Linked DNA regions of Homo sapiens: region 1 is linked to region 2. Evidence: promoter capture Hi-C in 16 types of primary human blood cells and fetal thymus (Javierre and others, 2016). All regions are on one chromosome and are shown on one strand. The core of a region is centred on a gene start or on the middle of the fragment in contact, and the rest is flanking DNA. Distances in the headings are between cores, read along the strand shown.

Region 1 (6,989 bases), core at 2,290-4,789, 370 kb before region 2:
ACCGGAAGGTAAACCATGCATTTATTAATAATAATGTATCAACATCCTGTCAATTGTGACAGATGCTCCACACTAATGCAGGACGTGAAGAATAGAAAACTGTGTGCCAGATGGGAGAGGAGGGGCATGGCAACTCTTTGGACATTCTGTTGGATTTTTCTGTAAACCTAAAACTGCTCAAAAGATAAAGCCTTGTGAAAGCAAAACAAGGCCGGGCGCAGTGGCTCCTGCCTGTAATCTCAGCACTTTGGGAGGCCAAGGTGGGTGGATCACTTGAGGTCAGGAGTTCCAGACCAGCCTGACCAACATAGTGAAACCCCCGTCTCTACTAAAAATACAAAAATTAGCTGGGCGTGGTGGTGGGTGCCTGTAATGCCAGCTACTCAGGAGGCTGAGGCAGGAGAATCACTTGAACCCAGGAGCCGGAGGTTGCAGTGAGCCAAGATTGTGCCACTGCACTCCAGCCTGGGTGATGGAATGAGACTCCATCTCAAAAAAAAAAAAAAAAAAGCAGGCTGGACACAGTGGCTCATATCTGTAATCCTAGCACTTTGGGAGACCGAGGTGGGCGGATCACTTGAGGCCAGGAGTCCGAGACAAGCCTGGCCAACATGGTGAAACCTTGTCTCTACTAAAAATACAAAAATTAGCCAGGTGTGGCGGCGCCTGCCTGTAGTCCCAGCTACTGAGGCAGAGGCAGGAGAACTGCTTGAACTCGGGAGGTGGAGGTTGCAGTGAGCGGTATCTCGCCCCTGCACTCCAGCCTGGGCGACAGAGTGAGACTCTGTTTCAAAAAAACAACAGAGAAACAGTTTAATGAATGATCATACAATAATCCAATCAGGCGGAAGGGGCCGCCTGTGGTCAACTTTTCCACAGCTGTGTTGGGTATACCAGCTCCAGGTGGGATCCCCCTCCCTGGCTCCTGTCAAGCTACAAGAGAAAGCTGCATCCAGCCTGGTGCTCAGGCCCCGTGGAGTCACACACCTGTGGTCCCAGCTACTCAGAAGGCTGAGGTGGGAGGATCGCTTAAGCCCAGGAGTTCAAGGCTGCAGTGAGCCGTGATAGTGCCACTGCACCCCAGCCTGGGCCACAGAGTGAGACCCTATCTTAAAAAAAAAAAAAAGCCCAGTGCTGCTCCCCAGGACAGGTGGCCAGGCCTCCTGTCAGCAGGCTGCAGTCCCATTCAGATGCCACCCTGGCCAGCCTTTCTCCAGGGGAAACCCAGGTTCTAAGTAAAATCATCCAGGACCACACAACCTTATCGCAGCCCTACCAGAGACTCTTGGGCTACAAACCATGGGAGTGAGTGTGTGGCGGGGGACTAGACAAGAAAGGGAAAGAGTCACAGGTCCTGTCCCACACCCACGATGGCCCCAGGACAGGACTGGAGAGGTAGGTAGCTGCCTCCAAGGAGGCAGCTGAGCTGAGGCTCTGGGCGCAGAGAGAGAGGGAGACAGAATGTACGCGCTGCCCGAATGTACAGGTCTGGGGAAGGGAGTCAGGTTTTGGGCTTCTGTCCTCACGATGCTGAGACACCAACAGAAGCACAGTTGAAGAGGAATGACCAGGAGAAACTGAGGTCTGGTTGTGACAAGGTGACTCTGTACCAATGATCAAAGGGCTATCTTCTAGAAAAGGAAACAGCTATGCTTGGTGAGGTACCCACGGGCAGAGGTCACAGGGAAGTAGAATTCAGTTCAATACAGGGGTCTCTTCCAAGCATTAGAGCCAACATAAAGGGCTATTCTGACAGCACCTTATCCCCTTACGACATCAAGCAAGAGGCAGGTCAAGTGTTTCTGGGACCGAGAAGGCCAGGCACACTGGGATCTGTCATTCTGAAAGCCCCGGACACAGAAGGCCCACCACCGAGATGGTACGAGCCACCTCTACAGCCCCACCCCTCCCTCCTGCCAATGGGATCTGAATTTTCGGGCCTCCCCTGTGTCTGCTGGCCCGAGCATCCTGAGTCACTCACCAGTGGCAGCTCTCCGCCCGGCCGGCGCATCTGATAGGTCGACCCATGGGGTAGGTTGTGGCTGGAAAGAAATTGGATTCCACTGCCGAGGCATCTCTAATTGGGGGGAGAGAAGAGAAAGATCCATTCTAACAAGAGGTTGACTGAGAAGTAAGCAGACCACACACAAAACAGCAGGGTCACCTGCAACTCACTGGCCATTTTTTTTTTTTTTTTGAGACGGAGTCTCAGGCTAGAGTGCAGTGCTGCGATCTCAGCTCCCTGCAACCTATGCCTCCTGGGTTCAAGCGATTCTCCTGCCTCAGTCTCCCGAGTAGCTGGAATTACAGGTATGCGCCATCACATCCGGCTAATATTTGTATTTTTAGGAGAGAAGCGGTTTTGCCATGTTGGCCAGGCTGGTCTCGAACTCCTGACCTCAGGTGATCCACCCCTCCCCCGGTTTTCCAAAGTGCTGGGATTACAGGCATGAGCCACTGCACCTGGCCTCACTGGCCAATTTGTATCTTATGCCTGATGCATGCCGGGCACTCTGTAATCTTCCCAAAGTCTGAGAAGCAAGCAGAAGCTGGTGGAAAGAGAAAATGCTGTGTCTGTACCTCCAGGGCCTACATCTATCCTCGTGCCCCTGAAACTGGGGGAAAACGGACAGGTCCCAGGAAATGCCAACCCATGGGGGGAAGAAGGCTAAATGTACAATTTAATCCCTTAGTCTGAAAGTAGGCACTCTAAGCTTCTATGCTAGTGGCAAGCAGTCTTCTCTTGCGAGCCCACCCCATTTCTGCCAGCCTCCAAAGATGAGAGAACTGGATTTTTCAGACACAAACATCGATAATGTGTTGCCCCAGGGACAACTCTGGAATAAACCTACAATGTCCTCCTCAAGGGTTGAGCTATAAACAGAGTAATTTAGGGGAGTCGCTCTGGGCAAAGACTGGGCTGATCTCATGTAAAAGGCACTTGCTGGCTGGGCGCGGTGGCTCACGCCAGTAATCCCAACACGTTGGGAGGCTGAGGTGGGAGGATCACCCGGTCAGGAGTTCGAGATCAGCCTGGCCAACATGGTGAAATCCCGTCTCTACCAAAAATACAAAAATTAGCCGGGCGTGGTGGCACACACCTGTAGTCCCACACACCTGTAGTATTGCTTAAACCCGGGAGGTGGAGGGTGCAGTGAGCCGAGATCTTGCCTTAAGTTCTGTGCAGGCACTGAGCTGGTGGCTCATGCCTGTAATCCCGATACTTTGGGAGGCTGAGGCGGAAGGATCGTTTGAGCTCAGGAGTTTGAGACCAGCCTGGGCAACATAGCTAGACCCTGCCTCCATAAAAAATTGGGGGAAAAAAAAAAAGCTCTGTGCAGGTCCTGTTCAGCTCGGCACCCTGTCACCCAGCACAGAACCTGGCGTGTTGATGTCAAAAGACCAGGTACAACTTCTCCACCATTTCCACATTTCCTGGGCCGTTTTTCTCTCTGTTCTCTGCCTCCTACCTCTGAGAACCCTATGCAACATCCCAAACTTACACAGGTGCCTACTATCTCCTGTATTTACTTGAGGATAACTTTTTTTTTTTTTTTTGAGACGGAGTCTCCCTCTGTTGCCCAGGCTGGAGTAAAGTGGCAGGATCTCGGCTCACTGCAATCTCCGCCTGCCGGGTTCAAGTGATTCTCCTGCCTCAGCCTCCCAAGTAGTTGGGATTACAGGAGCGCGCCACCATGCCCGGCTAATTTTTTTGTATTTTTAGTACAGATGGGGTTTTAGTAGAGATGGGATTTCACCATGTGGGCCAGTGGATCTCGAACTCCTGACCTCAGGTGATCCACCTGAGGCTGAGGCAGGAGAATCGCTTGAACCCGGAGGCAGAAGGAGGCAGAAGTTGCAGTGAGCCGAGATCGCGCCATTGCACTCCAGACTGGGCGACAAGAGCGAAACTCTGTCTCAAAAAAAAAAAAAAAAGAGAAAAAAGAAAAAACGAAGAGCACGAGCAATATGAAGTACTACTTTCTGAGTGCGCCTTACACGTCTTGACTGCCACTGCCCTGTGGACCCAAGAGCCTGCTAGGGCGCGAACCACCTCTCGCACATCCACAATGAACGTTAGAAGAAACGAGACAAGAAATGCTCTCGGTAGAGAACTTGGCATTTAACCGCGAGCTGTGAATTTCACGTTTTTTTGCCTTCCCCTCTACTTTTTTCCACGGGACGCCGCCGCCCCGGCTACCATTCTCTCTCCTGTATACGTGGAGTCTGATCAGAGGGCGAAGGGTGATCAGCTCCCTCCCAGGTCCCGCGCATCGCCGCCCCCTGCCCGGTAAGCTCGGTCCCCGCCCTCAGGCCACGCTCTGTGCCCCCTGTCCTGGCCTCTGCTACCCAAAGATCTAACCCCAAGCTTTCTAAGGAGCCCAAGCAAGGGTCGCGAAGGCCAAGGGTCTGAGAAGAAAGCCTTGGTGGCCGAAGGCCCAGAAGACCCCTAAGCTCGCCCTGCCAGCGCCGCACCGCCGCTCACCCGTGGACAGCGGCACCAGCCACTCCGCAGGGCCGCCGCCGCCATGTTGGAGAATCGTGTGACCTTCTCGCGGCGCGGCCCGGTTGCGTCATCCGCCGCTTCGGCCTAGAGCCGCGCAAGCCTGAGAAAAGCCGCTCCAGGAGCGGGGTTTCGGGTAGGGAGAGCCCTCCGATTGGGTCCGTCATAGGGCGGGGCATTAAAAGGGTAGGGAATGCCTAGAGAGCTTGACCTCTGATAGGGCAGTGTTTTGGAAGGACGGGGCCCGTGACTGGATGTGGCCCGGGGGAGGGCACTCCTGGGAGGGTCAGATCTGTGATTGGGCGCGACTACGAGGGGGCGGAGCCCAGGGGCGTGTATTCCGTCACTTGCGGTGATTCGGCTACAGAACGCGCCGGGCGCTGGTGGCAGGTGGTACAGGCACGTGGATCCACCGACCACAAGGACGGATTCGATTGGATTCTGATTGACCGGCGGACCAGCTCCAGAGTAATTGTCTATGGCTGCCCCTGCAATGACTGATTGATTGACAATGGCTGAGAGACCAGCAAGTGAGTCGCTCCGAGAAAGCGAAGGAGCCCACTCTTGTGCGGCGCTTTGGGAAGACGCCTGTTGGTTTTGACCCCGAATAAGAAGAGGAAGCTGAGAGCGGGCTGACTGTGGTCCAGTCCTACTTCGATTCAGTGTGAACTGACACTCTGATCTGAAGACGCTCAGGCCTTTGTCATTTCAGCACCCCAGATGCTATTTTCCATTCGAAGAATGCCGCCACCAGGTGGCGGTATTTTAACATGGCCATGCAATCCGGGTATGAGGAGGAGGGTTGGTCCCCTGGGAGAGCTAATGTATGTTGCTGTTGCTGTTTGTCTTATTGGATCCTTTTTTTTTTTTATAGAGCCAGAGGCTTGCTCTGTCACCCAGGCTAGAGTGCAGTGTCGTAATCTAGCTCACTGCAGCCTCCAATTCCCAAGCTCAAGCGATCCTCCTGCCTCAGCCTCTGAGTCACTGGGATTACAGGCGTGAGCTACCGCACCCGGTCTTTTTGCATTACTAACCTGTGATATGGGTTTATGGGACTTCATTATTTCAAAGGGAGGCAGCTTGGCCCCGGAGAGCATGCATTCCTGGCTTCTGCGATGGATAGACTTGTGTTCTCCATCTCAGGAGCTCCCCCTCAAGGTGGGGGTAAGAGATGAGGGCTTCCACTCTGGCTTTGTTCGAGATGTCTTGATGCCAAGAGGAGCAAACTAGTTAAGCGGTTGGTGTACACAGGTGTGTTGCTAAGAATAAGGTCTGGGCTAGAAATATGGATTCTTAGTTGTGGTTGAAAGTACGGAGTTTGGCCGGGCGCGGTGGCTCATGCCTATAATCCCAGCACTTTGGGACACTGAGGCGGGAGGATCTCTCCAGCCCAAGAGTTTGAGACCAGCCTGGGCAACATAGTGAAGACCTCTTCTTTACAACAAATACAAAACATTAGCTTGGCGTGGTAGCATGTGCTTGTAGTCCCAGCTACTCAGGAGGCTGAGATGGGAGGATCGTTGAGGCCCGGGAAGTTAAGGCTGTAGTGAGCCGTGATCGTGCCACTACACTACACTACACTACACTACACTACCTGGGCAACAGAGAGAGACCTTGTGTCAAAAAAAAAGAAGAAGAAAGAAAGAGAGAGAGAGAAAGGAAAGAAAGAAAACTACAGCATTGGACACTCAGAGGCAGTGTGTCATATAAGCATGTCAAAGACCCAAAGATAAAGTGGAGATAGAAGACTCCTTTAAGCCAGGATCCGTGGCTCAGTCCTATTATCCCAGCAACTCAGGAGCCTGAGGCAGGAGCATCATTTGAGCCCAGGAGTTACAGACCAGTCTGGGCAACATAACGAGACCCTATCTCTACAAAAATAAAAAAATAAGCCAAGCATGGTGTCTCTCGCCTGGAATTCCAGCTACTTAGGAGGCTGAGGTGGGAGGATCTCTTGAGCCCATTAGTTAGAGGCTGCAGTGAGCTATGATCACCCACTGCACTCCACCCTGGGTGACAGCATGAGACCTCCATCTCTTTTTTTGTTGTTTTGAGACAGAGTCTCACTCTGTCGCCCAGGCTGGAGTGCAGTGGCACGATCTTGGCTCACTGCAAGCTCCGCCTCCCAGGTTCACACCATTCTCCTGCCTTAGCCTCCCGAGTAGCTGGGACTACATGTGCCTGCCACCACACCCAGCTAATTTTTTGTATTTTTAGTAGAGACAGGGTTTCACCATGTTAGCCAGGATGGACTCGATTTCCTGACCTCGTGATCCGCTTGCCTCGGCCTCCCAAAGTGCTGGGATTACAGGCGTGAGCCACCACACCCGGCCTTTTTTTTTTTGAGATGGAGTTTTACTCTTGTTGCGCAGGCTGGAGTGCAATGGCGCGATCTTGGCTCACCGCAGCCTCTGCTTCCCAGGTTCAAGTGATTCTCCTGCCTCAGCCTCCCAAGTAGCTGGGATTACAGGCATGTGCCACCACA
Region 2 (6,611 bases), core at 1-2,500:
ATGGTGAAACCCCATCTCTACTAAAAATACAAAAATTAGCCGGGCATGGTGACGGTGCCTGTAGTCCCAAGCTACTCGGGAGGCTGAGGCATGAGAATTGCTTAAACCCGGGAGGCGGAGGGTGCAGTGAGCCAACATTGCACTGCACTCCAGCCAGGGCGACAGAGGGAGACTCAAAAAAAAAAAAACAAAAACTTTTGTACTTGGTTAACGTGAACGCTGCCTCCTTAAAAAAAAACAAACAAAAAAAAACCCAGGAACATTTAACGTGAATGTCAGGGACTTTGGGATGAGTCCAGGGACCTAGAAGTGCGGAATGCACAAAGGAGCTGGGAAAGTGTGTGAGCCTGAGCCCAGGGCTGCAAGTTGGGAGTGCCTGAGTGCACAGGGAGGCCACTCCAACCCTCCAGCTGCCTCTAGGGGTATCAGAGAGGGAGCCCGTCCCCACTGGCCACCAATACCTCTTAGGCCAGGGCGAACACGTCCACGGGGGTATATTCAACTTGTGACCCCAGTCTCTGCGAGAGCCTGCAGTAGCATGGGGGGGAGAGACCTCGCGTTCTCTAAGGATGGAGGACAAAGGAGGAGAGACTGGGAGGGCAGGGACGGTTGCGGAACGGTCACAAGGCCTGGGCGCGAGGGTTTGGAAGGCAAAGGTGCGAGAGGCACCAGGTGACCCGTCCTGCGTGATTAGCGGTCGGACAATCTGAGCCTGCTAAGAGCTTTCCTGACCACGCTGGTATGAAGGGCGGCTTGGAGGTGACAATGGGGGACGACAGGGCACAGCAGGTGTGGAGACGGTGTGCAGGGCCGGAGCAAAACCGTTAAAGGCAGGTGGAGACACCCTCCTCCCCTCCCCCAGCATGGGGTCTTCCTAGCACCAGTGCGCGCCTTCCCACAAGCGATGAAGTCCAAGTCCACGTGCTGGGGGAGTGTCATGAACTGACGTGCGGTGCAGCCAGTGACTAGGCGTTGTCGGTGCGCGGCGGCGGGGCGAAGCCTCGCGAGGGGTGGGAGCCCGCGCTGCGGGGCGTCACTCACCTGCGGCCTGGGCAGAGGTCGGGGTGGAAAGCGGGCTCGCGGCGGCCTCCAGGCCTAGTCCGAGGCCGAGCAGCAGCAGCAGCGCCAGGCCCAGAGCCCCTGTTCGCCACGCTCCAACCTGCGCCATCCAACCGCCGCTCATGCTGTCCCCACAGCGGCGCCGGCCACGCGCTGTCCAGACCGCTCTCTTATCCCTGCGCACGCGCACGCGCGGGGTTGGGGCGGGGCCCAAGCCCCTGAGTTCTGCGGCGCCCGCGGCTACGCGTACCGTAAATGTCAGAATAGCAGGGAAAAGAGAATTAGAGGCCCGTCCCCACTTTCCCCAGTGACCAGATCAGTTGAAAGGTATGGAGCCCGCTTGAAGTTAGAAACTTCTGGGGATGGGAAGGAATTTGTTGGTGTTCATTTGCATTATTTCCCGTTCCAAATGAGGACTGCTGCAAATGTTACTGCCTCGTGATCTTCTTTAATATGGCAGCCACGCCCCTCAGGCACTCCGCATTTCCTCCCTCATCCCACTGCTTTTGTGGCGCCGACAGGTAATTTATTTTATTTACTTATTCTGGTTTGTTGTCCGAGTCCCCATAGAATGCTAGCTACTGGAGGGCAGGGATCTTCTGTTGCTCACTGCTTTATTCTCAGGATCTGACACATAGTGCTTGACTCATAGTAGGCTCTTAGTAAACATTTGGTGAGTAAATGAATAAATGAAACGTCCATTCTCGGAGTCGGGTTGCTTGGGGGGGAAAAAGGAAAGGAAATCAATTAATTAATTAAATTTAATAATAAAGGCCGGGCGCGGTGGGTCACGTGTGTGATCCCAGCATTTTGGGAAGCAGAGGCGGGCAGATCGCTTGAGCCCAGGAGTTCGAGATCAGCCTGGGCAACACAGCAAGTCCCCGCCCGCCTCAAGAAAAAAGAAAATTAGCTGGGCATGGTGGCTCTAATTTGTAGTCCCAGCTACTCAGGAGGCTGAGGTGGGAGAATCACTTGGGGCTGCACTCCAGCGTGGGTGACAGTGAGACCCCATTTGTTAGAAAAGTTGGCCGGCGCGCTGGCTCACGCCTGTTAACCCCAGCACTTTGGGAGGCCGAGGCAGGCGGATCACGAGGTCAGGAGTTCTAAACCAGCCTGGCCAACATAGTAAAACTCCCGTCTCTACCAAAAATACAAAAATTAGCCGGGTGTGGTAACATGCTCCTGTAGTCCCAGCTACTAGGGAGGCTGAGATGGGAGAATCGCTTGAACCCGGGAGGCGGAGGTTGCAGTGCGCCGAGACCACATCATTGAACTCCAGCCTGGGTGACAGAGTGAGACTCTGTCTCAAAAAAAAAAAAAAGTTGTGGTCATAAAACTTGGTTCAGATGCCGTCAGCGGCATGCCTTGCCTAGGGTCTTGCCCTCCTTGTGGCCTCTGCACACCCTGCCTAGTCTTTCCTTCCCTCCTGACCTTTCTGAATCTGATTCATCCTTTTGCCCCAAGCAGAATCCCACCTTCTCCAGGAAGGTGTTAGCCTTTGTAGGACCCACTCTGGGACACTGGTACCTGCTGCCTGTAGCCGTGGCCTTTCCCCTTCCAGAGGGCAGGGCGGTCTCAGCACCCTCTTGGTCCACAGCTGATCTTTTTTAGCTGCTGAAGGGTCTGGGGCTGTGCCCTGGGGAAGCCATGACACTCCCCTGCGTAGGGTCACTGGGTGGCTCCTGCAGCCAGACTTGGACACCCTCCCTTTGCAGATTTCTGTCTCCTCCCCAGGAACCAGCTGCCTTCCTTCTGGGGCGAATTCATTCTTATCCCACAGCCCCAGCATAATGGGATCTGGCTCAGGGAGGCCTTTCCTGATCTGCCCTAGGTTTGCCTTCCCTGTGAGCAGCCCTTACTGTCCTCTGCCTTCCCCGTTGAGCTGCAGGGTGACCATGGTCAAGCAGGAGCCTCAGTGGGAAGGTGCTGAGGAAGGTTCATGTGAGAAGTGGCTGTGGGAGCCCTCAAGAGATGGAAGTTAGGCCAGGCGCGGTGGCTCACGCCTGTAATCCCAACACTTCGGGAGGCAGAGGTGGGCGGATCACTTGAGGTCAGGAGTTTGAGACCAGCCTGGCCAACATGGCGAAACCCCGTCTCTACTAAAAATACAAAAATTAGCTGGGCTTGTGGCAGGCGCCTGTAATCCCAGCTACTCGGGAGGCTGAGGCAAGAGAATCACTTGAACCCAGGAGGCAGAGGTTATAGTGAGCCGTGATCGCGCCATTGTACTCTAGCCTGGGCAACAAGAGCGAAACTCTGTCTCAAAAAAAAAAAAGAAGTGAGAAGTCTGTGGCTGGCCTACTGAGTGTCCGCACATACACCCCTTACCCCACCTGACTGGTCTTCACAATCAATGCTCCCCAACAGCCAGCGGTCCTGGGAGTCCAACCTCCCAGAAGGATCACCCACTCCCACCACTCTCAAGGTCAGAGCCTGGCCTTTGGGGGAAAGGGCAGTGCTGTCTCCAGGGCCTCTGCACCCAGGGACAGTGTCTGTCCCACCCCTGGAGTGCCAACAGAGTTGGGAGACTCAGCACTGACTTCACCCCAAAATCCAAGTAAGCTGGGTATTGCTTAAAATCAGGGGCCAGGCGTGGTGGCTCACACCTGTAATCCCAACACTTTGGGAGGCCAAGGCGGGCGGATCACCTGAGGTCAGGAATTTGAGACCAGCCTGGCCATCTCTACAAAAAAAAAAAAAAATTAGCGGGTATGGTGGTGCACACCCGTAGTCCCAGCTACTCGGGAGGCTGAGGCAGAATTGCTTGAGCCCAGGAGGCAGAGGTTGCAGTGACCTGAGATCGTGCCGTTGCGTTCCAGCCTGGGTGACAAGCGCGAAAACTCTGGCTCCTGCAGCCAGATTTCTATCTCCTCCCCAGGAACCAGCTGCCTTCCTTCTGGAGCTAACTCATTCTCATCCCACAGCCCCAGCATAATGGTTTCTGGCTCAGGGAGGCCTTTCCTGATCTGCCCTAGGTCTGCCTTCCCTGTAAGCAGCCCTCACTGTCCTTTGCCTTCCCCGTTGAGCTACAGGGTGACCAAGGTCAAGCAGAGGCCTCAGTGGGAAGGTCTAAAAAATAAAAATAAAATCAGGCCAGGTGTGGTGGCTCATGCCTGTAATCCCAGCACTTTGGGAGGTCAAGGCAGGAGGATCGCTTGAGGCCAGGAGTTCAAGATCAGCCTGGGAAACATGGTGAGACTCTGTCTCTATTTTTTTATTTTTTAAAGTAAAACTAGAAGTGATACCTGAGCTCTACGTATTTGTCATAAATTAGGTCACATTCTCCCTGGAGGAAATCCAAGGAGGCAAAGTAGTCGGGTGGCCGTGAGGGTGCAGTGTCACAGGTAAGGCTGGTCCGAGGACAGCTCCCACCTCTTTATGGGAGGAGCTGGAGTCACCGCCTTCTTCTCAGTGGCAGCTACAGCAGAGCTGGAGGAGGGAAAGACTTCAGTGAGGGTTTCCAAAGAACAGTGTGGAAAGATCTGAGGGAGCCCACACCTGCCCCGGGACAAACACACCCACAGGGACTTTCTGGACCTGCAGGACAGACAGCAGGGTGTTCCAGAATGCCAACCCCTCCAACGCAGCCCCTCAGAGGATCAGCCAACGCCAGGTGGGAGCTAGCAAGCCTCCTCTCTCCCCTGAGCCCTGTATGAACCCCCTGCTGTGGCCCCCAGGCCCAGAACCCACTGTGGAGAGCTGGGCTCCTCCCTTCCCACTTTTGGTCTCCAGCGTACACAAGGCCCCCACCCCCATTCCTGCTGCCCCTCAAAACAGGATGCTGGCAAAAGGGCCAAGCGATCAGGTGACAATGGCCTCCAGCTATTCCTGCCTCAGACTGGGCAAGAACTGCATGGCAGGCGCTACTGTGTGGGCGCAGAGCCAGGAAGATGGGGCACCGCCCTCAGGAAGACTCAGGCTGGTGGGGCTGAGAATCCATGCGCAAATGGCAACTGCAAAACGCATCTCTGGCCCAGAGCTGGCCAAGAGGGAGCCCCCAGGAGACCCTGTGCCGGCAAGTCCAGGACGAGCACCCTCCCCTCTCACCCCACCCACCTGAGCCTGTGGAGCTCACACACTTCACAGCCTAAGCAAGAAAGGAAGCAGGAGGGTGGGGTGATGGAGGAGGCGCCCCAGGGGTGGAGGCACAGGACCTCCCAGGAGCCTCAAGGAAATGGAAAAGGCAGAAGTGGCCTCCCTGGGAAATGCACACATCTCTGGGGGCATGGCAAGGGGCTGTGTGGGAACAAGGTATCTTGCCACACTCTGGTGCTGGACTCCAGTGAATCAGAAGGTGACAACAAGGACCACTCCACTGAGTTCCTTCTTTTTGAGACAGACTCTTGCTCTGTCACCCAGGCTGGTGTGCAGTGGCACAATCTCAGTTCACTGCAACGTCCGCCTCCCAGGCTTGAGTGATTCTCTTGCCTCAGCCTCCCAAGTAACTGGGATTACAGGTGTGCACCATCACTCCCGGCTAATTTTTGTATTTTCTTTCTTGTTTATTATTTATGAGACAGGGTCTCACTTTGTCACCCAGGCTGGAGTGCAGTGGCGCAATCTCAGCTCAGTGAAGCTTCCTCGACCTCCCAGGTTCAAGAGATCCTTCTGCCTCAGCCCTTCAAGTAGCTGGGCCTACGGGTGCACACCACCACACCCGGCTAATTTTTGTATTTTTTGTAGAGATGGGGTTTCCCCATGCTGCTCAGGCTGGTCTTGAACTTCTGGGCTCAAGCGATCCACCCGCCTCGGCCTCCCAAAGTGCTGAGATTACAGGCGAGAGCCACAGCGCCCCTAACTTTTGTATTTCAGTAGAGGCAGGGTTTCGCCCTGTTGGCCAGGCTGGTGTCGATCTCCTGACCCCTAGTGATCCTCTCACCTCGGCCTCCCAAAGTGCTGGGATTACAGGCGTGAGCTACCATGCCCAGCCTAAAAAATTTCTAATAGAGACGGGGTCTCGCTGTGTTACTCAAACAAGTCTAGAACTCAAGCAATCCTCACACCTCAGCTTCCCGAGTCACTGGGATTACAGGCACACACCACTGCGCCTGGCCTATTCACAGAGTTCTTTTTTTTTTTTTTGAGACAGAGTCTCACTCTGTCACCCAGGCTGGAGTGCAGTGGCGCGATCTCAGTGAGCTGCAAGCTCCGCCTCCCGGGTTCACACCACTCTCCTGCCTCAGCCTCCCGAATAGCTGGGACTACAGGCGCCCACCACCACACCTGGCTAATTTTTTGTATTTTTAGTACAGACAGGGTTTCAACATGTTAGCCACGATGGTCTCGATCTCCTGACCTGGTGATCCGCCCTCCCCGGCCTCCCAAAGTGCTGGGATTACAGGCGTGAGCCACCGCGCCCAGACCTCACAGAGTTTTAAGTACAGAGCAGGCCCTGCCTGACCTCATCACCTCCCAGATCTCAGCACACTGCAAGTCTAGCATCCCTATTTTATATGTGAAGAAACCAAGGCTCAAGAAGGCTGAGGGACTGCCCACACCGTGAGTTGGCTGTAGAGCCCAGACCCCAACAGGAGTCCAGGAAAACTGGTTTG

The links. The method cuts DNA at HindIII sites, captures the fragments that hold promoters and counts their contacts. A CHiCAGO score of 5 or more calls a contact.
Region 1: a contact is called between a fragment that was not itself captured here and the fragment with the promoter of CD320 in region 2, in 1 of 17 cell types (erythroblasts). The highest score is 5.3, in erythroblasts.

What each region holds. Positions count from the first base shown.
Region 1 is chr19:7,939,121-7,946,109 of GRCh38, forward strand. TIMM44 (translocase of inner mitochondrial membrane 44) reads right to left here and starts at 4,546. Exons shown (of 13, transcript NM_006351.4): 1 at 4,487-4,546; 2 at 1,982-2,077. The coding sequence starts at 4,531. RefSeq lists enhancers at 3,567-4,110, 4,111-4,653, 4,280-4,649, 4,654-5,197, 5,198-5,740 and a silencer at 4,680-4,749. The HindIII fragment of the contact is 1,655 bases long and covers 2,713-4,367 here.
Region 2 is chr19:8,307,108-8,313,718 of GRCh38, forward strand. It overlaps CD320 (CD320 molecule), which reads right to left and starts at 1,251. Exons shown (of 5, transcript NM_016579.4): 1 at 1,042-1,251. The coding sequence starts at 1,183. It overlaps NDUFA7 (NADH:ubiquinone oxidoreductase subunit A7), which reads right to left. Exons shown (of 4, transcript NM_005001.5): 4 at 4,177-4,488. The coding sequence ends at 4,398. RefSeq lists enhancers at 14-754, 741-870, 755-1,494, 1,550-2,079, 4,834-5,436 and silencers at 951-1,040, 1,015-1,353. The HindIII fragment of the contact is 66,850 bases long and covers 1-5,633 here.